Regions from separate parts of the Homo sapiens genome. Here all the other regions are linked to region 3. Evidence: promoter capture Hi-C in 16 types of primary human blood cells and fetal thymus (Javierre and others, 2016). All regions are on one chromosome and are shown on one strand. The core of a region is centred on a gene start or on the middle of the fragment in contact, and the rest is flanking DNA. Distances in the headings are between cores, read along the strand shown. Region 1 holds the start of LRFN3 (leucine rich repeat and fibronectin type III domain containing 3). Region 2 holds the start of ATP4A (ATPase H+/K+ transporting subunit alpha). Region 3 has its middle 11 kb from the start of ZBTB32. Region 4 holds the start of KIRREL2 (kirre like nephrin family adhesion molecule 2). Region 5 holds the start of GAPDHS (glyceraldehyde-3-phosphate dehydrogenase, spermatogenic). Region 6 holds the start of TYROBP (transmembrane immune signaling adaptor TYROBP).

What was found. The method cuts DNA at HindIII sites, captures the fragments that hold promoters and counts their contacts. A CHiCAGO score of 5 or more calls a contact.
Region 1: a contact is called between the fragment with the promoter of LRFN3 here and a fragment that was not itself captured in region 3, in 16 of 17 cell types (erythroblasts, activated CD4 T cells, M0 macrophages and 13 more). The highest score is 16.9, in erythroblasts.
Region 2: a contact is called between the fragment with the promoter of ATP4A here and a fragment that was not itself captured in region 3, in 11 of 17 cell types (megakaryocytes, erythroblasts, naive B cells and 8 more). The highest score is 23.1, in megakaryocytes.
Region 4: the fragment with the promoter of KIRREL2 here is called in contact with a fragment that was not itself captured in region 3 in 13 of 17 cell types (M1 macrophages, M0 macrophages, activated CD4 T cells and 10 more); the score reaches 11.0 in M1 macrophages.
Region 5: a contact is called between the fragment with the promoter of GAPDHS here and a fragment that was not itself captured in region 3, in 3 of 17 cell types (monocytes, M2 macrophages and M0 macrophages). The highest score is 6.1, in monocytes.
Region 6: the fragment with the promoter of TYROBP here is called in contact with a fragment that was not itself captured in region 3 in 13 of 17 cell types (activated CD4 T cells, total CD8 T cells, naive CD4 T cells and 10 more); the score reaches 14.0 in activated CD4 T cells.

Annotation. Positions count from the first base shown.
Region 1 is chr19:35,932,910-35,937,623 of GRCh38, reverse strand. It overlaps LRFN3 (leucine rich repeat and fibronectin type III domain containing 3), which reads right to left and starts at 1,250. Exons shown (of 3, transcript NM_024509.2): 1 at 69-1,250. The HindIII fragment of the contact is 21,793 bases long and covers 1-4,714 here.
Region 2 is chr19:35,561,137-35,565,431 of GRCh38, reverse strand. ATP4A (ATPase H+/K+ transporting subunit alpha) reads left to right here and starts at 1,774. Exons shown (of 22, transcript NM_000704.3): 1 at 1,774-1,814; 2 at 1,905-2,048; 3 at 2,164-2,223; 4 at 2,794-2,997. The coding sequence starts at 1,803. RefSeq lists an enhancer at 118-619. The HindIII fragment of the contact is 9,853 bases long and covers 1-4,295 here.
Region 3 is chr19:35,691,584-35,695,982 of GRCh38, reverse strand. No RefSeq gene overlaps it. Among named protein-coding and RNA genes, the nearest start is that of ZBTB32, 11 kb to the left of the region's middle. The HindIII fragment of the contact is 301 bases long and covers 2,947-3,247 here.
Region 4 is chr19:35,853,609-35,858,295 of GRCh38, reverse strand. It overlaps KIRREL2 (kirre like nephrin family adhesion molecule 2), which reads right to left and starts at 1,385. Exons shown (of 15, transcript NM_199180.4): 1 at 1,116-1,385; 2 at 802-951. The coding sequence starts at 1,176. The HindIII fragment of the contact is 4,263 bases long and covers 1-3,325 here.
Region 5 is chr19:35,530,971-35,535,776 of GRCh38, reverse strand. It overlaps GAPDHS (glyceraldehyde-3-phosphate dehydrogenase, spermatogenic), which reads right to left and starts at 2,321. Exons shown (of 11, transcript NM_014364.5): 1 at 2,183-2,321. The coding sequence starts at 2,249. RefSeq lists an enhancer at 1,335-1,464. The HindIII fragment of the contact is 5,250 bases long and covers 434-4,806 here.
Region 6 is chr19:35,905,742-35,910,545 of GRCh38, reverse strand. TYROBP (transmembrane immune signaling adaptor TYROBP) reads left to right here and starts at 2,251. Exons shown (of 5, transcript NM_003332.4): 1 at 2,251-2,378; 2 at 2,784-2,816; 3 at 2,966-3,100; 4 at 3,282-3,328. The coding sequence starts at 2,318. RefSeq lists enhancers at 735-844, 945-994, 1,145-1,274 and a silencer at 3,086-3,239. The HindIII fragment of the contact is 5,164 bases long and covers 1-3,501 here.

The sequences.
Region 1 (4,714 bases), core at 1-2,500, 240 kb before region 3:
GGTACCGTAACCCGCAGCCACAATGCTCCTCCCAGCCCGTCCCCACCTTGAGGTTTCAGCAGCCTTACCTGAGCTAGAAGCAGCCCCAGGGAGCAGAGTCCTAGCTCCAGGGGAGTCAGAGGTCAGGGCTCTGGAGGGAGCATCTGGTCATGCTTTTCCTGTCCCCAAGGCTTCTGTAGAGGGACTGTGTCCTGACTCGGCTCAAATCTGTGGCAACGGAGTCTCCAGACCTTAATACTCGGGGTTCCAGACCCCTAAATATTGGGCCTCTAGGGTCCAGTTTTACGGGTCCAGTTTGGGTTGTTCAGGGTCAGGGTCTCCCAGGTCCAGTCTTGGGATGCTAAGCAGCCAAACGGTGGGGTTTAGAGTCTGAGATCCGATCCCGGGGTTCTGCATTCAGATATTGGGGTGCTGAGTCAAGATTGGGAGGTCTCAAGCCCCAGATTTAAGCACTCAGGTCTGCAGCAAGGACTTCAGGCCCAAACTCGGGTTCAGGCCCCTTGGAATCCCACAGTCCAGATCTTGGAATTTGAGGCCTGAATCCCAGGGTTCAGGTCCCCAAGAGTGGGTTCCAGGGTACAGTACTGGAAATCCAGTCCCAGATTTCAAGGTCCCAGGCCCAGAATTCAGAGTTCAGCTCCAGGCTTGAGGTTTTAGATGTCAAATCTTGGGGTTCTGCTCCAAATATTGGGGTCTGTGTTCCAAATTGTGGGGTTCCGGCTCCAAATATTGAGGTCCCAGTGACCGATGTTGAGATTCCAGCCCCATATACTGGGGTTCAGGCTCCAGATCTTGGGGTTCCACGGCCGGATCTCGGGGTGCTGGTCCCAGATCAGGGTTCCAGGCTCGGGTTTCCGGAATTCCCGATTCAATCTGGGGGTGCAGGCCCCCGAGGTGGAGGTTAGGGCGCGGGGTCCGGGGCGGCGGCGTCCCGGCTGGCTTCCTGGGCTGCGGCGGAGGCTGACTGGGAGGGAGGGGACCGGCTGCGGTGGGGAGGGGGGCGACCGGGCAGCCCCAGGGCCGGGTGGGGCGAGGCCTGGGAGCGGAGGGACGGTCAGACAGACTGGGACACGCGGGATGGGGGCACCGCAGCGCAGGCGGGGGCGCAGGGGGGAGGGGCCGCGCTCAGAGACCCCTCCCCCGCCGGGGCCGAGGCGGGGGCCGGGCGGGGGCCGGGCTGGGCGGGCCGGGTCCAGGCGCTCCCGCGGCCTCCTCGCCGGCAACCCAGGGCAGCGCGCGCACCGGCGCTTAAAGGCGCAGGCTCCGCGCGCACCCGCGCTTAAAGGCGTAGGCACCCGCCCCTTCTCTCAAAGACGCGCCCCGGCCCCACCTCCCATGGAGTCGCACTGGCGCTGCTGGGAAAGAGAATCCCTGGATACAGAGAGACTGAGACAGAGAGACAGAGAAGAACGGAGATACAGAAAGGCAGACAAAAAGATGGGCAGGCTTAGATTGATGGATAGAGAGGAGAAAATGGAAAGAGGCAGAGAGACAGATTGAAACACACACATATTCGAGACATGGAAATGCACAGAGACAGCGAGACACAGAGAGTGATGGAGAGACAAGAGATAAGGACAAGTCAGAGAAAGACAGAAACAGAGATAGAGACGTGCGTGCGCGCGCACACACAGACACACACATACACACTCACACGCTCTAAGACGCAGCACCTGGGCTGTGAGAATGGTATGTGTGTATGTGCATTCAGTAACTATTCCTAGCCTTGAGTGTAGCGCTTCATTCCAGAGCCACTGGCCCCCCAAACCTGTCTCTTTCTGCCCCCCTTATCTCAGCACCACCTCCCTGGAATGTCCTTTCCACGGTTGGAGTTTCCTTACCTGGCCATGCCCAGCAATAGGCTTGATCTTTCAGGCCAGAGGGGCTCCTTCCCAAGGCTCCTTTCTCTGCCTGCAAGAGGGAAAACTTGTGCCATCTGGGATTAGGGAAAGACCTCAAGACACACTGACAGCCGGGGGCGGTGGCTCACGCCTGTAATCCCGGCTCGTTGGGAGGCCAAGGCGGGCGGATCTTTTGAGATCAGGCGTTGGAGACCAGCCTGGCCAACATGGAGAAACCCCGTCTCTACTAAAAATACAAAAATTAGCCGGGTGTGGTGGCGGACGCCCGTAATCCCAGCTACTCGGGAGGCTGAGGCAAGAGAATTGCTTGAACCCGGGAGGTGGAGATTGTAGTGATCTGAGATCCAGCCATTGCACTCCAGCCTGGGTGACAGAGTGAGACTCTGTCTTTAAAAGAAAGAAAGAAAGAAAGAAAAGCAGAGAGGGATGCCTTGCCTTGCAGGAGCCAGGCCAGGTGTCCTTGCAGTGCAGCCCACCAGGATCACCCGGGGGCACCATAGATCTCCAGGTCCCAACCTCAGAGTTTCTGGTTCAGTGGGTCTGAGGTGGGACCCAAACATTTGCATTTTTAACGAGTACCCAGGTGATGCTAATGTGACTTTTCAAAGACCATACTTTTTTTTTTGAGACAGGGTCTTGCTTTGTCACCCAGTACATTGGTGCAATCATAATTGACTGCAACCTCAAATTCCTGGGCTCAAGCAATCCTCCCACCTCAGGCTCCAGAGTAACTGAGACTACAGGCATGCATCGCCATATCCAGCTAATTTTTAAAATTTCTTGTAGAGACAGGGTCTCAATATGCTGCCCAGGCTGGTCTTGAACTCTTGGCCTCAGGCAATCCTCCCTCCCAGGCCTCCCAAAGTGTTGTGATTACAGGTGTGAGCCACTACACCTGGTCAGGGACCACATTTTGAGAACAGCTGGGCTGAACCAGGGCTATCTGCACTGCACACGGAACTGTCTACCACAACAGCTATGCTAAAACCTGGTGGGTTGAGGGCATGTAGCACCGCAGATGTGTACCAAAGAGACAAATGTATTTAGAGACATAAAGAGGAATTCAGTCTATAAGGGACTTAAACAATGCAACAAGCAAAAAACAAATAACCCCATTTTATTATTATTTTATTTATTTATTTATTTTTGAGACAGAGTCTAGCTCTGTTGCCCAGGCTGGAGTGCAGTGGTGTGATCTTGGCTCACCGCAAGCTCCACCTCCCGGGTTCACGCCATTCTCCTGCCTCAGCCTCCCGAGTAGCTGGGACTAGAGGCGTCTGCCACCATGCCCAGCTAATTTTTTTGGTATTTTTATTAGAGACAGGGTTTCACCATGTTAGCCAGGATGGTCTTGATCTCCTGACCTCGTGATCTGCCCGCCTCGGCCTCCTAAAGTGCTGGGATTACAGGCGTGAGCCACAGTGTCCGGCCTATTTATTTATTTATTTTTTTAGACAGAGTCTTACTTTGTTGCCCAGGTTGTAGTGCAGTGGCATAATCTTGGCTCACTGCAACCTCTGCCTCCTTGGTTCAAGTGATTCTCCTGCCTCAGCCTCCCAAGTAGCTGGGATAACAGGCACCTACCACCATGCCTAGCTAATTTTTGTATTTTTAGTAGAGATGGGGTTTCGCCATGTTGGCAAGGCTGGTCTTGAACTCCTGACCTCAGGTGATACCCCCCACCTCGGCCTCCCAAAGTGCTGGGATTACAGGTGTGAGCCACTGCGCCCAGCCCCCATCTCTTTTTTTTTAAGACAGAGTCCTGCTCTGTCGCCCAGGCTGGAGTGCAGTGGCATGATCTCGGCTCACTGCAATCTCCACCTCCTGGGTTCAAGCTATTCTCCTGCCTCAGCCTCCCGAGTAGCTGGGATTACAGGCATGCACCACCACGCTTGGCTGATTTTTATTTTGAGACGGAGTCTCACTCTGTCACCCAGGCTGGAGTGCAGTGGCGTGATCTTTGCTCACTACAACCTCCGCCGCCCGGATTCAAGCGATTCTTCTGCCTCAGCCTCCCGAGTAGCTGGGATTACAGGCATGTGCCACCATGCCCGGCTAATTTTTGTATTTTTAGTAGAGATGGGGTTTCACCATGTTGGCAAGGCTGGTCTTGAACTCCTGACCTCAGGTGATACCCCCACCTCGGCCTCCCAAAGTGCTGGGATTACAGGTGTGAGCCACTGCGCCCAGCCCCCATCTCTTTTTTTTTTAAAGACAGAGTCCTGCTCTGTCGCCCAGGCTGGAGTGCAGTGGCATGATCTCGGCTCACTGCAACCTCCACCTCTTGGGTTCAAGCTATTCTCCTGCCTCAGCCTCCTGAGTAGCTGGGATTACAGGCATGCACCACCACGCTTGGCTGATTTTTATTTTGAGACGGAGTCTCGCTCTGTCACCCAGGCTGGAGTGCAGTGGCATGATCTTGGCTCACTACAACCTCCGCCACCCGGATTCAAGCGATTCTTCTGCCTCAGCCTCCCGAGTAGCTGGGATTACAGGCACGTGCCACCATGCCCTGCTAATTTTTGTATTTTTAGTAGAGATGGGGTTTCACCATGTAGGCCAGGCTGGTCTCAAACTCCTGACCTCAGATGATCCACCCACCCCAGCCTCCCAAAGTGCTGGGATTACAGGCGTGAGCCACTGTGCCTGGCCATTTTTAAAAAAATTTTTAGTACAGATGGGTTTTCACCATGTTGGCCAGACTGGTCTCGAACTCCTGACCTCAGTTGATCCGCCCACCTCAACCTGGGATTACAGTGCTGGGATTACAGGCATGAACCACTGTGCCCGCCCTTTTTTTTTTTTCTTTAAGAGAAATGGTCTTGCTTTGTCGCTGAGGCTGCCATGCAGTG
Region 2 (4,295 bases), core at 525-3,024, 130 kb after region 3:
AAGGAGTGCAGAGTTTATTCTGAGTGGGAAGGGAAGGCTTTGGAGGGTTGTAAGCAGGGGGTGACACAAGCTGTTTGACATACATGGCTCAGAGCTGATGGGAGCCCAGTGAGCGAGTAGATTCACTACAAGGACAGCATGTGGCCCCACGCCACCTCTTCTTTGGAGGTTTCTTCTAGCAGGCTGGGGATGACCAGCCGTGTGGGTGCGGGGAGGAGCTCTGGCTGCCCAACAGCTTTGAGTTTCCCAGGTGACCTGCCCCAGTAGAGAAGGACATTGCCAGGGCAGTTATCTTATCAGGCGCACGCTCACCTGCTCCTGGAGACACGCTCACCCCATAACATACCAAGGTCCCCACCATTCCACTGGCCCAGCCCCTCGCTGCTGCTGCCCATGGAGGTCCCTACCTGAGGGATGAGGAGGGAGTCCCCAGGCCTCCTGGCATCTGTCACCCAACACCAAGATCAAGCCAAGACCCTTGGACACATCCTTTCCCCATGTTGCACCTTGGTTTCCCCATCTAGGGTAGGGACGGGGAATGGTTGAGAGCTGTAAAGTCTGTAGCTGGATATGTGAGTCCCTGTGAGCCTCAGTTTCCCCCTCTGCACAACAGGAATGATAGTTCTGCCTGCACAGGGTTTTTTGCAAAGACCCGTGAGGTCACACGTGCAGAGCCTGGCATGTGTGTGGTGCTGCTGCAGTGAAGTTTGGGTTTTTCCATTGGTGGTGCCATAGAAGAGCTAGGCTCTGGGGTCAAGCCCTGGGGTCAAGCCCGGGCTGGAACCCTGTCCCTAATTCTTAGACGTTGAAATCTTCTGCAAAGTCCCTGATGGGGGCTAAGAAGAGAATATTGCTTTACAGGGCTGCTGTTAGATGCTAAGGAAACCATTTGAGTGACACACAGAGCACACCCAGCCCATAGTGAATAGTCAGAGTTCAGTAAACATTCAGCCACCATAGAGAGTGTTGTAAGCATGGCAGGGCATGGTGGCTCACGCCTGTAATCCCAGCACTTTGGGAGGCCAAGGCGGGTGGATCACCTGAGGTCAGGAGTTCGAGACCAGCCTGGCCAACCTGGTGAAACCCCGTCTCTACTAAAAGTACAAAAATTAGCTGGGTGTGGTGGCATGTGCCTGTAGTCCCAGCTACTCAAGAGGCTGAGGCAGGAGAATCACTTGAACCCGGGAGGCGGAGGTTGCAGCGAGCTGAGATTGCACCACTGCACTCCAACCTGGGTGTCAGAGTGACACTCCATCTCAAAAAAAAAAAGAAAAAAAAAAAGAGTGTGGGAGCACCCTCCTCTTCCAGTTGATCAGGCACGTGCTATTTAGACTGAAAGAGGACACTCTGCAGCCAGCTGATCTGGTTCTCACTCCATTATGTCCTAGCCTGTGATGGAGCCATAGGAGAATGACTCAACCCCTCCATGCCTCAGTTTCCCCATCTGTAAAGGGTCTTGTCCCCTCAAAGGGTTATTGGAAGGTTAAATAAGTTAGCACATGGAAGCCGTCAGCACAATGCCCAGCGCATAATGAGCACCTTATGTTTGCTCTTCTTGTTGCTGCAGCGGTTCCCAGGGGCTCCCTGATCTCAGGGCAGGTTGACATGGGGGGATCTGGGCAGGGGAGGGGGGGGCCAGCCCAGGAGGGAATGCCTGAGGTGCCCAGGCCTAGAGGTCACCCCAAGGAGCCTGTAATCAGCTGTGGTCGGGCGGTTCTGCTCCACCCCACCGCCCTCCCTGGGTATATCAGGACTGGTCCGGGCCCAGGCTCTGTTGGGTGGGAGCACAGGCACCGGGCACCATGGGGAAGGCCGTGAGTGGGGCCCAGGGGTCCGGGGTGCAGTGGGGACAGGGGTTGCAGTGGAATCTGAGTTCTCCCTCCCTCCATCCTGTCCATTCCCAGGAGAACTATGAGCTCTACTCGGTGGAGCTGGGTCCTGGCCCTGGCGGGGACATGGCTGCCAAGATGAGCAAGAAGAAGAAGGCGGGTGGCGGGGGTGGCAAGAGGAAGGAGAAGCTGGAGAACATGAAGAAGGAGATGGAGATTGTGAGCTCTGACTGGGGAGGGGCGGGAGCTGGAGGGTAGGCTGGGAACCAGGCAGTGGGCGGGGAGGGGGCCAGGAGAGCCCAGAGCAAGCACCCTGCCCCACCCCACCACACAGAACGACCACCAGCTGTCAGTGGCGGAGCTGGAACAGAAATACCAGACCAGTGCCACCAAGGTGAGCTGGAGACTGGGAGCGTACAGAAAGGGGAGGAGGAGAGAGGGAGGGAGAGGGAGATGGAAGGAGGGAGATGGAGAGAGGGAGAGAGAGGGAGAGATGAAGAGAGGAAGATATGGAGAAATAGAGAGAGGGAGGGAGGCAGAAAAGGAAAGAGGGAGGGAGGGAGAGAGGAAAGGATGGAGGGAGGGGAGGAGAGAGGGAGGGAGATGGAGAGAGGGAGAGAGAGGGAGAGGGAGAGAAGGGAGAAAGCATTAGAGAGAAAGGGTGACACACAGAGACGGAGAGAGGAGTAGCTGAAAAGAGACAGCAAGACAGAGAAGGCAGAGACAAATAAGGAGAGAGCAGCAGGAGAGAGACACATAGAAAGGGGAGCGAGGAGAGAGAGACAAAGGGAGAGATGAAGGAGGGAGGGAGAGATGGGGTGGGGGCAGGAACCAAGAGACAAAGAGATGAGAAGGAGCAGGACAGACCAAGCTGGAGAAGGGAAACTGAAGCAGGGGGCTTTCCACGGGGTGTGCATGTGGAGGAAAGCCCCCAGGACCGCCTCGCCCTGCCCCTCTGTCCCAGGGCCTCTCTGCGAGCCTGGCTGCTGAGCTGCTGCTGCGGGATGGGCCCAACGCACTGCGGCCACCACGGGGCACCCCAGAGTACGTCAAGTTCGCGAGGCAGCTGGCCGGGGGCCTGCAGTGCCTCATGTGGGTTGCCGCCGCCATCTGCCTCATCGCCTTTGCCATCCAGGCTAGTGAGGGGGACCTCACCACCGACGACAATGTGAGCCATGTTGTGGGGACAGGCTCAGGACATGGGGACCTGGGGATGGAAGACACTGAGCCTGGGACTTGGGACAAGAGGGGCAGAGAAGGATGGGGATAGACGAACACGAAAGGCAGTCTCAAGACAGGGGTCATGGAGGGTGAAGGACATTGGGATATGGATGGGGCAGACCCAAGGACACAGGACACAGGGACACTGGGGTGAATCTTGGGTATGGGGACATAGGTGGGGGCATAAAGAGTATGGCAATGTGATACGTAAGAGATGGGATTTGGAGGCCGGGCGTGTAATCCCATGCCTGTAATCCCAGCACTTTGGGAGGCCGAGGCGGGCAGATCACCTGAGGTCAGGAGTTCGAGACCAGCCTGGCCAACATGGCAAAACCCCATCTCTACTAAAATTACAAAAATTAGCCAGACATGGTGGCGGGCACCTGTAATCCCAGTTACTTGGGAGGCTGAGGCAGGAGAATCATTTGAACCCAGGAGGTGGATGTTGCAGTGAGCCAAGACCATGCCACTGCACTCCAGCCTGGGCGACAGAGCGAGACTGCATCTTAAAAAAAAAAAAAAAAAAAAAAAAAAGAGATGGGACTTGGAAGCAGAGGACATGCAGTGCAGACACAGGACAGACTGAGGCACGGGGAATAGGAGACCCTGGGACTCAGACATAGGACACCAGGGCAGGGACCCAAGCCTCAGGACACAGCACATAGAGAGACACAAAACATGAGACATAGAAGCACAGAGACAGAGAGGAAATGGAGGTGCAGGGCAAGGGACATTGGACATATGGCAGAGATGAGGGCAAGGGACATGGGGACTCAGGGACATGTGACATGGGACAGAGGCTCGAAAAGTCATGGCCATGGGACACAGGATGGGAACTCGGAGATACACAGACATGGGAGACACGGGACACAGTGACTGGGGAGCTAGAACATGGGGGCCGTGGCCACAGAGGACACAGACCATGACGTACAAGGTCTGCAGCACACGCAGGGACGGGGATGTGAGGATGCAGGGACAAGGGGGCCCAGGGGACACACAGAGGGTGGCAGCAGATTATGGAAAACCCAGGATGTGAAACTGGAGACACGGGGAATACAGGCCATGGGGACAGGAGGAGACATGGGACAGTGGACATGGGGAATGCAAGGCTTGGGGACACAGGAGAAGGGAACACGTCAGACCAAGGCACACAGTGATTTGGGGCACAAGTCACAGATATGGGGACATGGAAGATTGAGGATTCAGGGCCAGAGGATATGAAATATACACAGAAACACAAGACAC
Region 3 (4,399 bases), core at 1,848-4,347:
CCCCACCCTTATGACCTCACTTAACCTAAGTTCCCTTCTTTATTTTCTTTTTCTTTATTTTATTTTATTTTTGAGACAGAGCCCTGTTTTGTCACCCAGGCTGCAGTGCAGTGGCAGGATCTTGGCTCGCTACAACCTCCATCTCCTGGGTTCAAATGATGCTGTTTTGGCCTTCCAAGTAGCTGGATTTAGAGGTGCCTGCCACCACGCCTATCTAAGTTTTGTATTTTTAGTGAAGGCCGGGTTTCACCATGTTGGCCAGGCTGCTCTCAAACTCCTGACCTCAAGTGATTTGCCTGCTTTGGCCTCCCAAAGTGCTGGGATTACAGGTGTGAGCCACTGTCCTGGCCAGTTTACTTTCTTAAAGTATCTGTCTTGGGCTGGGCGTGGTGGCTTACACCTATAATCCCAGCACTTTGGGAGGCTGAGGTGGGAGAATCACTTGAGGCCAGGAGCTCGAGACCAGCCTGTCCATCATGGTGAAACCCTGTCTCTACAAAAAGTACAAAAATTAGCCAGGTGTGGTGGCGCACGCCTGTAATCCCAGCTACTTGGGAAGCTGAGGCAGAAAATCACTTGAGCCCAGGAGGTGGAGGTTGTAGTAAGCTGAGATTGCACCACTGCACTCCAGACTGGGCAACAGAGCAAGACTCTTGTCTCAAAAAAAAAAAGGCTGGGTGTGGGGGCTCATGCCTGTAATCTGAACACTTTGGGAGGCCGAGGTTGGCGGATCACGAGGTCAGGAGATCAAGACCATCCTGGCTAACACGCTGAAACCCCGTCTCTACTAAAAACACAAAAAATTAGCTGGGCGTGGTGGCGGGTGCCTGTAGTCCCAGCTACTTGGGAGGCTGAGGCAGGAGAATTGCGTGAACCCAGGAGGTGGAGCTTGCAGTGAGCTGAGATCGCACCATTGCACTCCAGCCTGGGACACAGAGCGAGACTCCATCTCAAAAAAAAAAAAAAAAAAAAGTTAACTGATGTACCCTGAACCAGAGTTGTTTTTAGACAACAAATATTGCTTGTCTTGACTCTGGGTACAGATATATATATATGTATCTTTTCTTTTTTTTTTTTTTGAGACAGGGCCTTGTTCTGTTGCCCAGGCTCCTGGCCTCAAACAATCCTCACATCTCAGCCTCCCAAAGTGTCCTCAATTTTCTGAATGGATTTTTATGAGAGGAACTTTAATACCAGGGATCCTATTTTGGTCATTTTGTCCAGCAGGGCTGGGAGCAGCTCTTCAAAAAGACCATTTTCTTGTCCCTTTACCTTCCCTGTTTTGCATGATTCTGTTTCCATTTGTAGAGGATCTGAGAAGGCAGCTGATTCTGTGAGAAACAATGATTCTACTTCATGTTTTAAATAGATCTGTTGGGTTAAGTGACAAGTCCCTAGCTAGACTCAAGAAGGCACTGGAGAGCTATGGTCCTGCCACTGTACTCCAGCCTGGGCGACACGGTGCGATTCTCATTTTCTCTCTCTCTCTCTCTCAGACAAAGTCTCCCCCTATTGCCCAGGCTGGAGTCCAGTGGTGCTACCATAGCTCACTGCAGCCTCGAACTCCTGGGCTCAAGTGATCCTCCTGTCTTGGCCTCCCAAAGTGAGGGATTACAGGTGGGATTACAGGTGTGAGTCACTGTGCCTGGCTGAGACCCCGTCTTTTAAAAGAAAGGGGAAGGGGGAGGAGAAGGGGTAGGAAGAAGGAGGAGGAGGAGGAAGAAGGCGGAGGAGGAAAGAGGAGGAGAAAGAGAAAAAAGGAGGAGGGAAGAGGAGGAGGGTGAAGGAAGGAGAAGGAAGAAGGAGGAGAAAGGAAGAGGGATGAAAGAAAAGAGGAGGGAGGAAGAGGAAGAGGGAGGAGGAGGAGGAAGGAAGAGGAGGAGGGAGAAGGAGGAGGGAGGAGGAGGGAGGAGGAGGAGGGAGAAGGAGGAGAGGGTGGCAGTGGAGGTCACTCCCTATAATGTGGAGCATAGCAGCCACCTGCTGGTCACAGCGCAGTAGGAAGAACACAAAGCCCTGGAGTGAGGCAGAGGGGCCCTGGCTCCTCAGTGGCTCTCCAGCGCCCTCTATTGACAAAGCCTAACCTGGCACCAGATGACAAATGGAACTGAGAGGTAATAAATTGATAACCCACAGGTAAGTGATGGGGCCCCTGCTATTAATAAAAACAACAGTAATAATAACGACTACCATGGAATTCTCAGTGCTGTCTGTGTCATTTATCCCGGAATCGCTGGTGAAGGTTGATGGGGAGGGGGGATTGTGGTCCATTTGCCTCCAGGGTCGGCTCACCCTTCCCTAGGCTCAGGCTTAGGGTCTGAGCCTGCTCTGGGCAAGCACCCTCTCCCTCCTCCCAGACCAGACCCTATAGATGGAGCTGACTCCATCCCTGCTCCAAGGGCAGGCGTGTGCCCCGGAATCTGCACTTTCCCCAGCCCCACACGTGATGGCACAGCACAGTGTCAAACCTAGACAATGAAAAACATTCCAGAGGGGGCACCAGGCCCTCTCACCGTTTTTTGCTTTGTTTTGTTTTGTTTTTGTTTTTTGAGATGGAGTCTTGCTCTGCCACCCAGGCTGGAGTGCAGTGGCACGATCTTGGCTCACTACAACATCCACCTCCCAGGTTCAAGTGATTCTTCTATCTCAGCCTCCTGAGTAGCTTGGATTACAGGCACATGCCACCACATCTAGCTAATTTTTGTATTTTTAGTAGAAACAGGGTTTCGCCATGTTAGCCAGGCTGGTCTCGAACTCCTGACCTCAGGTGATCTGCCTGCCTCAGCCTCCCAAAGTGCTGGGATTACAAGTGTGAACCACCATGCCCAGTCATCTTTTTTTTTTTTTTTTTTTTGAGACTGTTATCTGGGCTGACAGAGTCAGTGGTGCCATCTTGGCTCACTTCAGCGACGACTGCCATACTCAAGTGATCCTCCTGCCTAAGCTTCCTGAGCAGCTGTGATGCAGGTGCTTGCCACCATGGCCAGCGATTTTTAAAAATTTTTTTATTGTTTTGTAGAGACAGGGTCTCACTATGTAGCCTAGGCTGGTCTCGAACTCCTCAAGCGTTCCTCCCGCCTTGGCCTCCTAAAGTGCTGGGATTACAGGCGTAAGCCACCGCGCCCCCCCGCCCGGCTAGGTTTTTGTTTTGTCTTTCATTCTTTTATTTTTCTCCTTAGCACTTATTAGCCTCTAACATGTGTTTTTCTTATTGGTTTTATCTATTTTCCCCTCTAGAAGGTAAGCTTTATTTATTTATTTATTAAGCTCTTTTAAATCTGGGAAGAGTTCCTGTAAGCTTTATTATCTGATTCCCAGGAAGCTTGTAGCCATTTTTCTAACACCAGCCAAGGACGCGGGGACCAGAGAGGAGGAATTGGTGGGCGTGGGACACCTGAGGAAAGGGCAGGGGTGTGTGTTTTTACGTTTTAGTTAAAAAAAAAAAAAAAGAACCAACTTGCCCTCATGGAAGGAGTGTAAGCAAAAGTGGATGTAGTCAGAGGCATGTGCCTGGCTTGATTGCTATATAACACAGTTTCTTATTTCCATTCTGTGATCTCAGATGGTGAGAGAGAGAGCTTGGCTCAGTGGAGCAAGAGAGAGAAAGAGATACCTGGAGAGGTGGCAAGGGGCCAAGCCACACGGGCCCTCAGTGCGAGGTGAGGAGGGCGCTGGAGAGCCGTGGAGGGTTAGAGGCTGAGGAGGGATGCAGTCACCTGGGGTGTGGGGGGAACAGCCATCAAATGGCTGCCTGTCCCTCAAGGGGTCCGGGCCCTGACATAGCCCTGACCTCTTTGCTCCCCTCTTACCCACAGGAGCCGGCCTCTGAGTTTGGGGGCTGGGGCGGACAAACCTGTCCTGCAGGCAGGCCCGCCTGGGTGAGGCCACGCTGCTGCCGGTCTGACTGAGCCACACTCTGCAGGTATATGGTAGGATGGAGCCCGAAAGCCAAGTGGCAGATGTGGGTCAGAGATGGCGGCCTACCTACCTGACTGCCCAGAGGTCAGAGGTCAGGTCAAACCCCGGCCTCCCATCTAGCAAGTCCTGGCCTATTATTATTATTATTGAGACGGGGTCTTGCTATTGCCCAGGCTGGAATGCAGTGGCACCATCACAGCTCACTACAGCCCCTACCTCCTGGGTTCAAGCGATCTTCCCACCTCAGCCTCCCGACTAGCGGTTACTACAAGTGCGCACCACTATGGCCAGCTAATTTTTAAATTTTTTGGAGAGATGAGGTCTCACTATGTTGGCCAGGCTGGTCTGGAAATCCTGGCCTCAAGCAATCCTCCTGCCTCAGCTCCCAAAATGCTGGGATTACAGGCGTGAGCCACTGTGCCCAGCCCTGACCTGTCTTACTGAGAGGTGACAGCGTGCTGGCAGTCCTCACAGCCCTCGC
Region 4 (4,687 bases), core at 136-2,635, 160 kb before region 3:
CACTATTAAAAAGTGTGTACTGGGCCCAGAGAGACTCTAACTCCCTCCCAACCCAGAGTCACTGCAAACTTAGGGGTAATAAAGTCAGGAAGGAAAGCAAGAAAATGATTGCCATAAAAATTAGGTTAGATACTACTTCTGGAGTGAGGGGGAGGGGGCTATGATAGGGGAAAGGAACACGGGGTCTTCTGGGGAGCTAGCAATGGACTTGGGTATTGGCTGTGTGTGTCTATTTTATTTGGTAAATCTTCCATTTATATTTACTGTACTTTTTTGCATTTATGTTCTCTTTTTTTTTTTTTTTTGAGACAGGGTCTCACCATTGCCTGAAGTGCAGTGGCTTGATCATGGCTCACTGCAGCCTTGAACTCCTAGGCTCAAGCAATCCTACCACCTAAGCCTCCTGAGTAACTGGGACTATAGATGCACACCACCATACCCGGCTAATTTGTTTAAAATATATATATACATTTGTGTAGAGATAAGGTCTTGTTATGTTGCCCAGGCTGGTCTCAAACTCCTGGTTTCAAGCGATCCTCTGGCCTCAACCTCCCAAAGCGTTGGGATTACAGGCGTGAGCCACTGCACCTGGCCTATGTACTATTTTGCAATAACATAATAATTCCCAAACTCCGTGGGTCACCCCCAAAGAAGCAGCTCAAAAATCAGGACTCCTAAATGTTTACCCGAGCCCATCAATTTCCCAAACTTGAAAATGTCAAAATAGAAACTGCAGGTACAGCCGAGCCCAGCAACTCTCCCCCTAGCCAGCCCGTCCCAGCGTGGAGAGAACACTCTTACCTGGTAGGTCCCTTTGGCCCCCTAGGGCCAGCCCACTCTTAGTCCACTGAACTAGCCCCCAGTAGGCGCCCAGAGCACACGGCAGCCGGGCTTCCTCCCCCAGCAGCACCACCAGGTCCTCTGGCTGTTGCAGGAAATGGGGCGACGGGCCTAGGAGAGTTCGGGGCAGCAGGGCTGAGCTTAGCACCTTCAGGGGCCTCCTCATTCAGGACCCAGGAGTCCCAGCCCCCAGCTCCCTTCTCGCTAGTGAAGAGGCAGCCCGCAAGCAACTCCCCACCCCCACCCCATATTCCTCCGCTCCCCTCGTGCGGTACCTGCTCTCCCTCTGAAGCAGAAGAGGAGGACGAGGAGGGCGGGGACCCGCATCCTGAGCATTCGTCCCCCAAGGTTCACGAGATTTGCCGTCGCACTGGCCTTCCCGTCAACTTCTTCCTCTCAAGCACGCCTCCTGTCACCCTGGCCCGGAGCCCCCTTCACGCTCGACTCTTCGCCCAGCCTAGTCTCTGGCCTGGAGTCCTCCAAGTCTGCTCATCCGCAGCCTCTGACGCTCTGAAACGCCTGCCAGTTCCGCGGCCTGGGTCTCTGGGAGACCCCAAGAGGGCCCGATCCCGCTCGCCCCGCCCGGGTCCGCCCCCCGGGAGCTCCGCCCTCTTCCCGTTGAGAAACTCCCGCGGCTGAGACGCGGATGAATGGGGGACGCAGGGCGGGATCCCCCGGCGGGTGGGCGCCCCCAGCTCAATTGGGGTCTGGGAGCCGGAACACCTGGGTTCGAGGAGGGAGGGGGTCCCGGCTGGGTTGGACACCTGCGCCCTGCCGGGGTTGAGGGGCAGGCAAGGGGTGAGGAGGAGGGAAGGGAGAGAGTGGAAGAAACTTGCTCAGCCCAGGTCCTAGAGGGACTGCGCTCAGTGGAAACTGAGCTATAAATGGGAGCTCCTGGGGCCTCGCCAGTTTCCGCGCCCTGGGGGATGCGGGGTCCGGGGCTCCCCCGGGCCTGCGTGTCGGGAAGAGGGCACACCGATACCTGGGGGACAGTTGGGACCCCTACCTCGACTCCCCCAGCCTCAAAACCCCTCCTCAAAATATCCCTCTGTTCCCTTGTTATTGCTGCAAACTACAGCACGTCCTAAGACCCAGGAATCCAGGCCCTCGGCCCCTCCTTTCCCAGGACCCCGCAGTCCCAGCCCAACCCCTCTCCCCACTCGGCCGGCCGGGCCCCTCGGCCTGGTTGCCCGGCGACGGCTGGGAGGCGGCGGTGCCGGGCCGGGGCAGGCAGGGAGGCTGGGAACCGCGCAGCTTGTCCTGACGGCTCCATGCAGCCCAGCTGGGGCGTTCCCACGCTGCGCAGCTGGCCGAGCAGGTGGGAGGGACCCCGAGCAGCCTGAAGGAGGGCTGGGGGGCTGGGACCCTGATCTGACATTCCTGGACCTGTAAGAACTGGAGGGTCCACATTCAGATTCTCCACTGTTCTTAGGCTCAGACTCCGTGTCCCTAAATGGGGGAGTGGGGTTGGGAGTGGGGGTTGGACTTACAGGGTTATAAGGGACTGGTGGTTCAGGCCTTTGCTGGCTGAGACGCTGATGGCCTGATCTCCCGGTTCCTTGAGAGGCTGGAGACTCAAGGTGCACTCAAGTGCATGGTGCACTTGGAAGAGGGTGACAGGGGTCAGAATATCTGGTCTTAAGTCTTAAGAGTCGGTGGATCTATCTGCCAATCTCTCCCCACCCCCACACAGGCCCAGGAGGATTTGGAAATCAGACCGTGAACATCTGTCCTAAGTCCTGTGTGTATGTGTGTGTGTGTGTGTGTGTGTGTGTGTGTGTGTGTGTGTGTGTGTGTGTATGGGGAGGTGCGGGGGTGGGTAGTGTGGCCAGGAGGATCAGAGGCCCAAATTCCCGAGTCCTTGGAGAGAAGGGACTGAGACCCCAGGGTCTGAGAGGGGAGGGATCTGGGGGCCTACACTCCCGGCTTCTGTGTGGCTTATCTAGTGCCTGGATTTTGAAATAGGATGGACATGGGGCTGGAACTCCTGAGTCTTAGGGAGGAACTCAAGTCATGGGGCTGTTTTTCCAGGCACTTGACGCCGCTTCCCCTTCCTGGCTCTCTGGGGCTACGGACATGGAAAGATGGAGAGCCCAAGGTCCCAGGAGCATGCAGAGAAGGAAAACAGCCAAGGTGGAGGGTGGAAGGTTTGTGCTTATTAAAGGCCCCAGCAAGGGACAGCTCCACGCTCTGGCACCTAGGGACACCATCTGGCGAGGGCCCCCAGGACAGAGCCACTCCCCCAGCTCGGCATCCAGCCCATTTCCCAGGGGGTGTAGAGAGCAGTTGGGAGAGGGGAGGTGGGAGGAGGGCAAGGAGTCAAGCATGTGAGGGAAGATGGAAGTCCAGCATCGAGGATGAAGCTGGGGGCTGAGGCCAGATGCCTCATCTTGTTCCTGGGAACGATATTGGCGGGGGTCTTGGGGAGGTAGGGAGAAAACTAGCATTTCCAATTCCCGCAGGAGATAAGCAGGCAGAAGAAGCTTATCCCAGGCAAGTGTATGTGCACGCGGGGAGGGCAGGCCCACCAGCATATGGTTATAAAATCCAGGGATGTGATGAGCAGAGCCACTCGGAGATGGAGAGACACATAAGAGAAAGAGGCGTGGTCAGAGTGTGGCTGAGAACAAATATTTATGGAGCTCCTGGTGTGTGTGAGACAGACTGTGGGGTGAGGGGAGCGACAGAGGTGAGAACAGAGACAGAGAAACAGAATAACAGAGACATATAGAGATGGAGAGACACAGTGAAATAAAGATTGACTGAGATTTAACAACTTAATATAGAGAGCGAGAGAGTCTCAAACAGATGGAGAAAGATAGAAAGATAAATCAGCTGGGCACAATGACTCACGCCTGCAATCCCAGCACTTTGGGAGGCCGAGTCAGGCTGATCACCTGAGGTCAGGAGTTCGAGACCAGCCTGATCAACATGGAGAAACCCCGTCTTTACTAAAAATACAAAAAATTAGCCAGGCGTGGTGGCGCATGCCTGTAATCCCAGCTACTAGGGAGGCTGAGGCAGGAGAATCGCCTGAACCCGGGAGGCAGAGGTTGCAGTGAGCCGAGATCACACTATTACACTCCAGTCTGGGCAACAAGAGTGAAACTCCATCTCAAAAAAAGAAAAAAGAGAAAAAAGAAAAAAAAGAAAGATAAATCAAGGGCCAGGTGCGGTGGCTCATGCCTGTAATCCTAGTACTTTGGGAGGCCGAGATGGGAGGATTGCTTGAGCCCAGGAGTTCCAGACAAGCCTGGGCAATATAGCAAGACTCTGTCTCTGCAAAAACATTTAAAAAAAATTAGCCAAGTGGCGGGGTGCAGCGGCTCCCACCTGTAATCCCAGCACTTTGGGGGGCCAAGGCAGGTGGGTTACCTGAGGTCAGGAGTTCGAGACCTGCCTGGCCAACATGGCGAAACCCCGTCTCTACTAAAAATACAAAAATTAGCTGGGTGTGGTGGTCAATGCCTGTATTCCCAGCTACTCAGGAGGCTGAGGCAGGAGAATCGCTTGGACCTGGGAGGCGGAGGTTACAGTGAGCCAACATCGCACCATTGCACTCCAGCCTGGGTGACAGAGCAAGACTCCCTCTCAAAAAAAAAAAAAAAAAAAAAAAAATAGCCAGAGTGGTGATGCGGGCCTGTAGTCCCAGCTACTCAGGAGGCTGAGGCAGAAAGAACACTTGAGCCTAGGAGGTTTGAGGCTTCAATGAGCCATGATCACACCACTGCACTCCAGCCTGGGCAATAGAGAAAGACCCTGTCTCTACAAACAAATTTTAAAAAATTAGCTGGAGTGGTGGTGTGCACCTGTAGTCCCAGCTATTCAGGAGGCTGAGGCAGGAGGA
Region 5 (4,806 bases), core at 1,072-3,571, 160 kb after region 3:
AAAATCACCTGAGGAGGGCTCTTCCTAGAAAAATCGGACTCAGTGGGTCTGTATGGAGGCCCAGAAATCCTGTTTTTAATCAGCACTCCAGGCCGGGAGCGGTGGCTCACGCCTGTAATCCCAGCACTTTGGGAGGCCGAGGCAGGCAGATCACCTGAGGTTGGGAGTTTGAGACCAGTCTGACCAACATGCAGAAACCCCGTCTCTACTAAAAATACAAAAAAATTAGCCAGGCGTGGTGGCACATGCTTGTAATCCCAGCTACTCAGGAGGCTGAAGCAGGAGAATCGCTTGAACCCAGGAGGCGGAGGTTGTGGTGGGCGAGATCGTGCCACTGCACTCCAGCCTGGGCAACAAGAGCGAAACTCCATCTCCCAAAAAAAAATAAAAAATAAAATAAGCACTCCAGGCATTTCTTATCCTCAGGGAAGCTTAGAGAGTACCGTGTATCATACTCTGTGAAACCCATGGAAGCTCACATTGGCTCCCACCTCTCCACACACACTCCTGCTCCCAGACTGCACTTAAAAACACCTGCGCCTGGAGGTAGCAGCCGCCTGAGCTACAGAGGAGGGCTTGAGAAGAGGGGAGAAGTGGAGACTCAGGGGACCTGGTGGCAGAGAGTTTCAAGCTGGAAAGTCAAGCCTGGCTCAGTCCACACAGACCTGCTGCTCTGTGGATTTGAGCAAGTTAATGAACCTCTTGGGGCTGATCCCCCACCTAGGGGCTGCTGTGAGGGCGCAGTGAGATCTCGAGGCCCACACATAGGAGCTGATTTTAATAGAGGAGGGAAGTCTGATCCTACACAGATTCCTGAGGAAAGGGAGACAGCAGGGGGTGGAGAAGGGCTGGAAGGGGGTAGTGGGAGTCCAAGTTTTTGGCACCAAATCAAAGGCACCTGGGGGGTGGTGGGGCTGGGAGCCGGGGGCCAGCTGGCCTGTCTGTCTCCCTGACCTCTCCCTGTTGCCACAGACCTTGTGGCCTGAGGCTGGACTATAGGTGTTTCCAGTGGCTGTCCAAGTTCATGAAGGTGTTAGTGTTTATTGGTGAACTTGAGGATGTTTGCATCCTTGGGGGTTGTTTCTGCTATGGGAGAAAGGGGATTTGTCCACCTGGTTCAGGTGGGAATCTGAGCCCAATGGGTGACCCTTCCGAAGAAAACTCAGATGGTCCTCCTCTCCCAGCACTCCCAGCCTTGCACTCTCTTCCCCTCCACTGTAGGGGTGGGGTCCCCCGGTTGGAGAAAAGCCTGGGGGCTAGCTGGGTGCTGCCCCCAGCTCCTCACTGCGTCCTCCCACTGAATCCCGAGAGGCATGCGCTATAAACCCACTTTACAGAGGGGAAAATGAAGCCTGAGGCCACGGAGCAGTGATGCGCAGGGCAGGGGTTCAAGTCTCATGAGGCTGGTAAGCCTGTCTGCTCCTGTGTCTTCCAGGGTCTCCTGGACCAAAGCCCCAGCCCCACCTACCCCTGCGGCCCCCGCCCTTGGGAAGTGAGGGAACAGTGTGGGAATGGAGGCAGCCCACCGGAAGACCTGGTTCCTCCGGCTAGAGTGAGTGAGTGAGTGTGTGTGTGTGTGTGTGCGCGCGCGCGGGCGCGCCGCCCTTGTTGAGAGACTAAGGAAGTAGTTTGCCCTCTCTTAACCTCTGTTGGCCGCTCTGTAAACTGCGGGCACACTCTGGCCTTCTCAGGTGGTGGTGAGGCTTCCCTGAGCTCTCGCCTGCGAAGTGGTCAGCACGTCCCCGGCAAGGTTCCAAGTGTCCTTGTTTTGTGCATCACAGGGAGGGCAAAGCTCACCTCACGCGAAGCGCCATGAACATCACTTTTACATGGAAGCCCAGCACCCCTGGGTTCTCCCTAAGCCCCTCCTAAGCCCGCCCACTTCCCGCCACTTTCAGGCTGCAGCCTCCGATGGCCCTCGTTTCTGCTCTTTCTACCGCGTGATAGCGGCGCGAAGCCCACCCAGCCCTGGGGGCGGAGGCCCGGTCTCCCCGCCATGGCAGTAAACCCCACTCTGCCAGCACACTGGCGGGTGTGGAGGGAGGGAGAGCGGCTGATCCCCTGGTCCCTAGATGGTGCACACGCCAGGAAGGGCGGTAGGGATACGGCACAGGTGTGAGGGTGCAGACGCTCCCCACTACCCTTTCCACCCCTCCCCCGCGCCCTCCGCTGCCTCCCTCACCCGGGCACGGCTGTCGCAGCAACTGGACAACGGTGACATTGGTGAGGACGATGTCGCGCTTCGACATGGCCTCTTATAAGGTTATCATTGGCCTGGACCTGCTGTGATGTTACCGAGGTGCGTGCGGAGCGCCAGGGCTGTGGGTCCTGGGCTAATTGCCCTGATGTCACAGCACCCAGTGACGTCACAGTACCCAGTGACGTCGCCGAGGGGCGGCGCCCAAGCCAGAGGCCTGACACCATCGCATCCCATCCCCGTAGAGGCATGGGACGTCAGCACGCTATGCATCACCGTTCCACGGCCACGCACTGCCGTCTGGAATGGAATCCCACTTTTTAAAATTATCATTTGTTTATTTATTTTGAGACGGGGTGTCACTCTTTCTCCTAGGCTGGAGTGCAGTGGTGCAATCATGGCTCACTGCAGCCTTGAACTCCTGGGCTCAAGCGATCCTCCCGCCTCGGCCTCCTGAGTAGCTGGGACTACATGTGCAGCCACCACTGCAGGCTATTTTTACTTTTTATTTTTTTGTAGAGAGAGGGTCTCACTCTTTTGCTCAGGCTGGTCTAGAACCCTTGGGCTCAAGCGATCCTCCCACCTCGGCCTTCCAAAATGCTGGGATTACAGGAGCGAGCCACCACACCCAGCCTGGAATCCCACCTTTTACACTGTTCCTGAAAGCCCTTTCCTCTTCTCTGTCTCTTGAAGCACACAGGTTCCATGCTGTCCCTTGGATTCTCCAGTGGAGTGACTCTTGCTGCCTCCGTATGCCTGGAAGGCCCACCCAGGGCTTCCCTTGGCTGCCTCTTGGTTTCCCACCCTTTAAGAGAGGCTTTCTACACTCTGCATCTAAGTTCCCTCCTTTCTCTGTCACTGTCAGCCGTCACCCCCTTCCCAATTTCTGCCCATCTTCCAGGAAGCCTTGTCTGACTTCTCCATTCTGAGTTATGCTTCAGTGTGCAAAATTTCTCTAGGGCTACACTGTCTATGTTTTTATTTTCCTTAGAGCACATGTCTCTCTAAAAATTGTTTGTTTTCTTGCCAACTGTCTCTGTCCACCAGACTGTAAGCTCTGAGAGGACAGGGACGTCATCTATGTCACTTCTGTATCCCATTGACAAGAAAAGTGTTTGGCACCTGAAAGGTGTTTGTGGGCTGGACGCAGTGGCTCATGCCTGTAATCCCAACACTTTGGGAGGCTGAGGTGGGAGGATCATTTGAGTCCAGGAGTTTGAGACCAACATGGGCAATGTGGCAAAACCCTGTATCTACAAAAAATAAAAAAAGTAGCCAGGTGTGGTGGTGCATGCCTGTTGTCCCAATTATTAGGGAGGCTGAGGTGGGAGGATCACTTGAGCCTAGGAGGTCAAGGCTGCAGTGAGCTGTGATTGTGTCACTGCACTCCAGCTGGGAGACAGAGCAAGACCCTGTCTGAAAAAGGCGTTAGCCCAATAAACTATACCTGAATGAATAAATGTCAATTCCTCAGGTTTCATCTGATCGCTAATCTTTTCTTTTCTTTTCTTTTTTTTGAGACAGAGTTTCGCTCTTGTTGCCTAGGCTGGAGTGCAATGGTGCGATCTCAGCTCACCGCAACCTCCGCCTCCTGGGTTCAAGTGATTCTCCCGCCTCAGCCTCCTGAGTAGCTGGGACTACAGGCGTGCGCCACTACACCTAGCTAATTTTTTTTTTGTTTTTGTATTTTTAGTAGAGACGGGGTTTCACCATGTTGGCCAGGCTGATCTCAAACTCCTGACCTCAGGTGATCCATCTGCCTCGGCCTCCCAAAGTGGTGGGATTACAGGCGTGAACCACCTCGCCCGGCCCTGATCGCCAATCTTATCAAACTCTTCACGTTATATCTTCTCGCAGCACCCATTCTTTTCCTTGTAGCTTTTCATGTAGTTTGTCATGATCTACTGATTGGTTTATTTGTTCGATGTCTCCCCCTTGGGCTCTAAGCCCCTCACAGGGCTCCTGTTCTTGTTTGTTTGTTCACGACTGTGCCTCCAGCACTTAGAACAATACAAAGCAGGTTTTCAATGAACGTCTGACAAAGAACAAGTGGACAAACAGCTCCCTCCCCTGCAGCCCCGGGGTAGGGGTTTGCTTGCACCTCAGTGACTCACAGGCAGGCACCATCACCTGCACAGCAGGTTGACACGCAGCTGTGACCAAGGTTCAGGGGGAGTGGGGGTTTGTGCCAGGAAGGAGTCACCATCCCAGAGAGGGATGGATGCAAGAAGGGGCAGAATGACATAACCTCTTCCTTCCGCCAACATCCATGAGAAATTCATTTGCCAAGCACCTGCCATGGGACCAGGGCAGGGTGAGGCTCTCCTGCTTTGATGGCCTGGGAGAAGAAAGTAAACTAAGTGTACAGGTGAGGAGGTTTTAACGAACCGAGACCAAAACACAGATGATTAATTAAACAAAGGGAGCTACATTTTGGTGTACAATCAAGGAGGTGAAAAATATAACCTCAACAAAACCAGGATTCAAAAGGGGCTGATTTTGGCTGGGTGCAGTGGCTCACACATGTAATCCCAGCACTTTGGGAGGCCGAGGCAGGTAGACCACCTGAGGTCAGGAGTTTGAGACCAGCCTGGCCAACATGGTGAAAC
Region 6 (4,804 bases), core at 1,002-3,501, 220 kb before region 3:
TCAGGCTCCTGAGTAGCTGGAATTACAGGCACGCGCCACCACGCCAGGCTAATTTTGTATTTTTTAGTAAAGACCGAGTTTCTCCATATTGGTCAGGCTGGTCTCGAACTGCCGACCTCAGGGGATCCGCCCACCTCGGTCTTCCAAAGTGTTGGATTACAGGCGTGATCCACCGCGCTTGGCCCTTTATTATTATTATCATTATTTTGAGACAGAGTCTTGCTGTGTCGCCCAGGCTGGAGTGCAGTGGCGCGATCTCAGCTCACTGTAACCTCCACCTTCCAGGTTCAAGGTATTGTCTTGCCTCAGCCTTCTGAGTAGCTGGGACTACAGGTGCCCACCACCATGCCCAGGTAATTTTTTGTATTTTTAGTAGAGACCGGGTTTCACCATGTTGGCCAGGATGGTCTCGATCTCCTGACCTCGTGATCCGCCCGCCTCAGCCTCCCAAAGTGCTGGGATTACAGGCATAAGCCACCGTGCCCAGCCTAATTTTTAGTAGAGATGGGGTTTCACCATGCTGGCCGGGCTGGTCTTGAACTCAACCAGGCATTATTCTAATAGACCTCACAATATCCTCACAAATATCCCAGCAGCCTGGCCTCCCTGCTCCAGTCCCTGCCTCCACAGTCTGCTCCCCACCTGCGGCCGGAGGGAACCTGTGAACCCCTGAGTCAGGTCAGGGCCCTCCTGGCTCAGAGCCCTGCTCTGGTCTCTGACTGCCCCCTCGCCCACTCTGCTCCAACACATTGGGTGGCCTGGTGTGCCCGGGAGGACCTACAGGGTCTGTTCCCTCCATGCTCGCTCTAGACACAATGGGAGAGGCTTGGGTTTTTAAGGGAGGGGACTCAGCCAGGCCTGAACAGTGGTGACCGTGGGCTGAGCTGGGACCTGACCCTCCTCCAGGCTCCAAATCTCCTCTCCTCCCTTCCCCCACAGGCCACTGGGCATCTGCCCTGTGACCAGAATCCAGTTTCCCCTTTTTTCTCCTAAGCCCAGGCCCAAGGAGCGGTGGGTGTGACGTGTGGATGGGGGAGGGGGGCTTCCTGCAGCTGTCTCATCCTCCAGCACCCTAACCTCAGGTTCCTCCTTCCCCAGCCCCAGGCTCCAGCTGGGGGCTAGAAGTCCCCGTCTCCTTGGGGTGGCCTCCCTTGGGCCTTGCTCCCAGCCACTTCCTCATTCAGCAGGAGAGCCAGCCACCTGCCTCTCCCCAAGCCGCCAGCCGTGCCTCTGTGTCTGTGCCACTGCCTTACTCTCACCTTTCTCAGCTTTGCCGCTGTTTTCTCCTTCCCCATCTTTCATCTTTGTTTTTCCCCCTGACTCTTCCCTAGTCAAAAACCTGATTTTGGGTCTTGGGTTCCATTTCCACCTTGATTTGCTGTGCAGCCTTAGGCAAGCGTCTCTACCTCTCTGAACAATGGGGATGATAAGAGCATGTGCCCTAGAAGGGCATTGCGGGGACTGAATGATTTAACGCTTGGGACAGAGTGCCTGCATGTCATTAGTGCCCACATGCTGCTGGCTCTTTTAATATCCTTTAAACAGCACAAGTTTCTGATGATTAAATAATCATCATCATAGCTGATGCTTTTAAAAAGCTGACAAGGGTCAGACCCTGGTCTAGGAACTTTAATTCATTTAATCCCCACAACTCTAAAAAGTAGGTCCCATTTTACTCCCAATTTTACAGATGAAGAAACTGAGGTTGGAGCTGGGTGCGGTGGCTCACACTTGCAATCCTAGCACTTCGGGAGGCCAAGGTGGGTGGATCACCTGAGGTCAGGAGTTTGAGACCAGCTGGCCAACATGGTGAAACCCTGTCTCTACTAAAAAAAAAAGAAAAAAAAATACAAAAAATTAGCCGGGCATGGTGGCAGGCGCCTATAATCCCAGCTACTTGGGAGGCTGAGGCAGGAGAATCACTTGAACCCGGGAGGCAGAGGTTGCAGTGAGCCGAGACCGTGCCATTGCACTCAAGGTTGACCAGCCAGGAAGAGGCAGAGCTGGTTTCAATCAGCCAGAGGAAGGTCATGACACTGACCCTCCTGTTAAAACGATGTCTGACCCCTGACTGGGGACGGAGGTGAAGTTTGTGCTTCACGTACCCTTTGCCCTTCACGTCTAGTTGCTGGGGGCCTGTGGCATGGCCCCTGGGTGTCTGGGCCTGATTCTTTCTTGGGTTTTGTTTCTGTCTCTCCTCCCCTGTCTCCTCCTCCCTTCTGCCACCACCCGCCTCAGACTTCCTCCTTCACTTGCCTGGACGCTGCGCCACATCCCACCGGCCCTTACACTGTGGTGTCCAGCAGCATCCGGCTTCATGGGGGGACTTGAACCCTGCAGCAGGCTCCTGCTCCTGCCTCTCCTGCTGGCTGTAAGTGGTGAGTTAGGGGCTTCCGTGGCTGCCTCCCGGGTCCCTGGGCTCAGCTTGGGGCAGGGCAGGGAGTGGGGTGGAACGAGAGAACCAAAAGTGGGTGTTGGGATGGGAGCAGGTCCCCAACCTCCCAAAGCCTGTGGGTTTCTCCCAGAGCCCAAGCCCCCAAGTTTTGTCGTCCGCTACAAGCAGGGGAGAAGAGACATCTAAGTGTGTTGCCACAGGACAAGTTGTGCAGAAGTAACGCACATAGTCCGGTGGCCCAGACGCCAGCCCCCTGAGTCCCGCCAGACACGCTCTCCCCCTTGCTAACCTCTTGGCTGTCAGGATCCACCTTCCCTGGCTTCTAAACTTGCCTCCCCCACCCCCGTCATAACTCTGTGCCTCAGTTTACCTTCTTTTTCCTCCTCAGGTCTCCGTCCTGTCCAGGCCCAGGCCCAGAGCGGTAGGCCTAGACCCAGCAGTCCCTCTCTCTACCTCCCAGAGACCTCCCTGTCTCCGTCTCTCCCACACCCTTTCCAAACCTCCCTGCCGCTGACCCCCCTCCCCACAGTTCCCAGCACACACTGACCTCCCCTGACCCCTGTGCTGCAGATTGCAGTTGCTCTACGGTGAGCCCGGGCGTGCTGGCAGGGATCGTGATGGGAGACCTGGTGCTGACAGTGCTCATTGCCCTGGCCGTGTACTTCCTGGGCCGGCTGGTCCCTCGGGGGCGAGGGGCTGCGGAGGGTGAGTGGGGCTAGCAGGGGACATCCTGAGGACTTGCCTAGATGGGGGTGGGGGGCTGGGTAAACTCCCAGATCTCAAACATCCAAAGGGATGGTAATGGAGGTGCTGATTTGGAATGACAAAACACCCTCAACTCACCACTCTGCCTGTCTCTGCACCCCACAACACCCCTCACCTCCAGCAGCGACCCGGAAACAGCGTATCACTGAGACCGAGTCGCCTTATCAGGTGAGAAAACCAGACTGTCCTCCTCACATTTCACTCCTGCCAGGGATATCTGCCCCAGATACTCCTTCATGCCATCAGAGGGACCTCAAAGCCACTCTGCCTAAAGCACCCCCAAACCTTGAAGGCACATGGGACATCTGTCCAAAACTGGGCCGAATGATCAACCACAAGCTTATGGTCAGCTTAAAATGTGTGAAGAGGGGCTGGGCACGGTGACTCAAACCTGTAATCCCAGCACTTTGGGAGACAGAGGCGGGTGGATCACTTGAGGTCAGGAGTTCGAGACCAACATGGTGAAACCCTGTCTCTACTAAAAATACAAAATTAGCTGGGCGTGGTAACGCATGCCTGTAATCCCAGCTACTTGGGAGGCTGAGGCAGGAGAATCCTTTGACCCAGGAGGCGGAGGTTGCAGTGAGCCAAGATCACGCAATTGCACTCCAGCCTGGGCAACAAGAGGAAAACTCTGTCAAAAAAAAAAAAGCGTGAAGAGTTAAAAAGAAAAAAAAAAGGGTGGCTTTGCCTTTGTAAGTGTAAACACAGGCCTTGCCAGAAGTCAGGCCAGGAATTTTCTGGAAGAAACCCAGCCCTAGGACGACTGATTTCTGGGAGACGCTCTCAGTAGGGCAGAGAATGTCATTCAGCCCTACCTTGGTAACTCTAAAGAGAGGAGTCCTAGAATCTCTTTTTTGGGTTTGAGGACCCTTCATCCCTTTGAGAAACTAAGAAAATCTAGACTCCCAGAAAAATCTACACAAAAAATACAAAATTGTGCATATAATCTGAGAGCAGTGTAAATGTTCTTTATAATTAAAAAAAATTTTTTTTTGGCCAGGCATGGTGGCACACACCTGTAATCCCAGCACTTTGGGAGGCCAAGGTGGGTGGATCACGAGGTCAGGAGTTCAAGACCAGCCAGGCCAGGATGGTGAAACCCCATCTCTACTAAAAATACAAAAATTAGCTGGGCATGGTGTCATGCGCCTGTAATTCCAGCTTCTCAGGAGGCTGAGGCAAGAGAATCGCTTGAACCCAGGGGGCGGAGGTTGCAGTGAGCCTGGGCGACAGAGTGAGACTCCATCTCAAAAAAAAAAAAAAGACAGGGGTCTCACTATGTTGCCCCAGCTGGTCTCAAACTCCCAGTCTCAAGTGATCCTCCCGCCTCAGCCTCCGAAAATCTTGGGATTACAGGCTCAAGCAACCATGCTGGTTGAGTATTCTTGAAGCTCTTTTTTCTTTCTCTACTTTAATTTTTTTTTTTTTTTGAGATGGAGTCTCATTCTGTCACCCAGGCTGGAGTGCAATGGTGTGGTCTCAGCTCACTGCAACCTCCACCTCCCAGGTTCAAGCGATTCTCTTGCCTGAGCCTCCCGAGTAGCTGGAACTACAGGTGCATGCCACCACACCCGGCTAATTTTTGTATTTTTAGTAGAGATGGGGTTTCACTATGTTGGCCAGGCTGGTCTCAATCTCCTG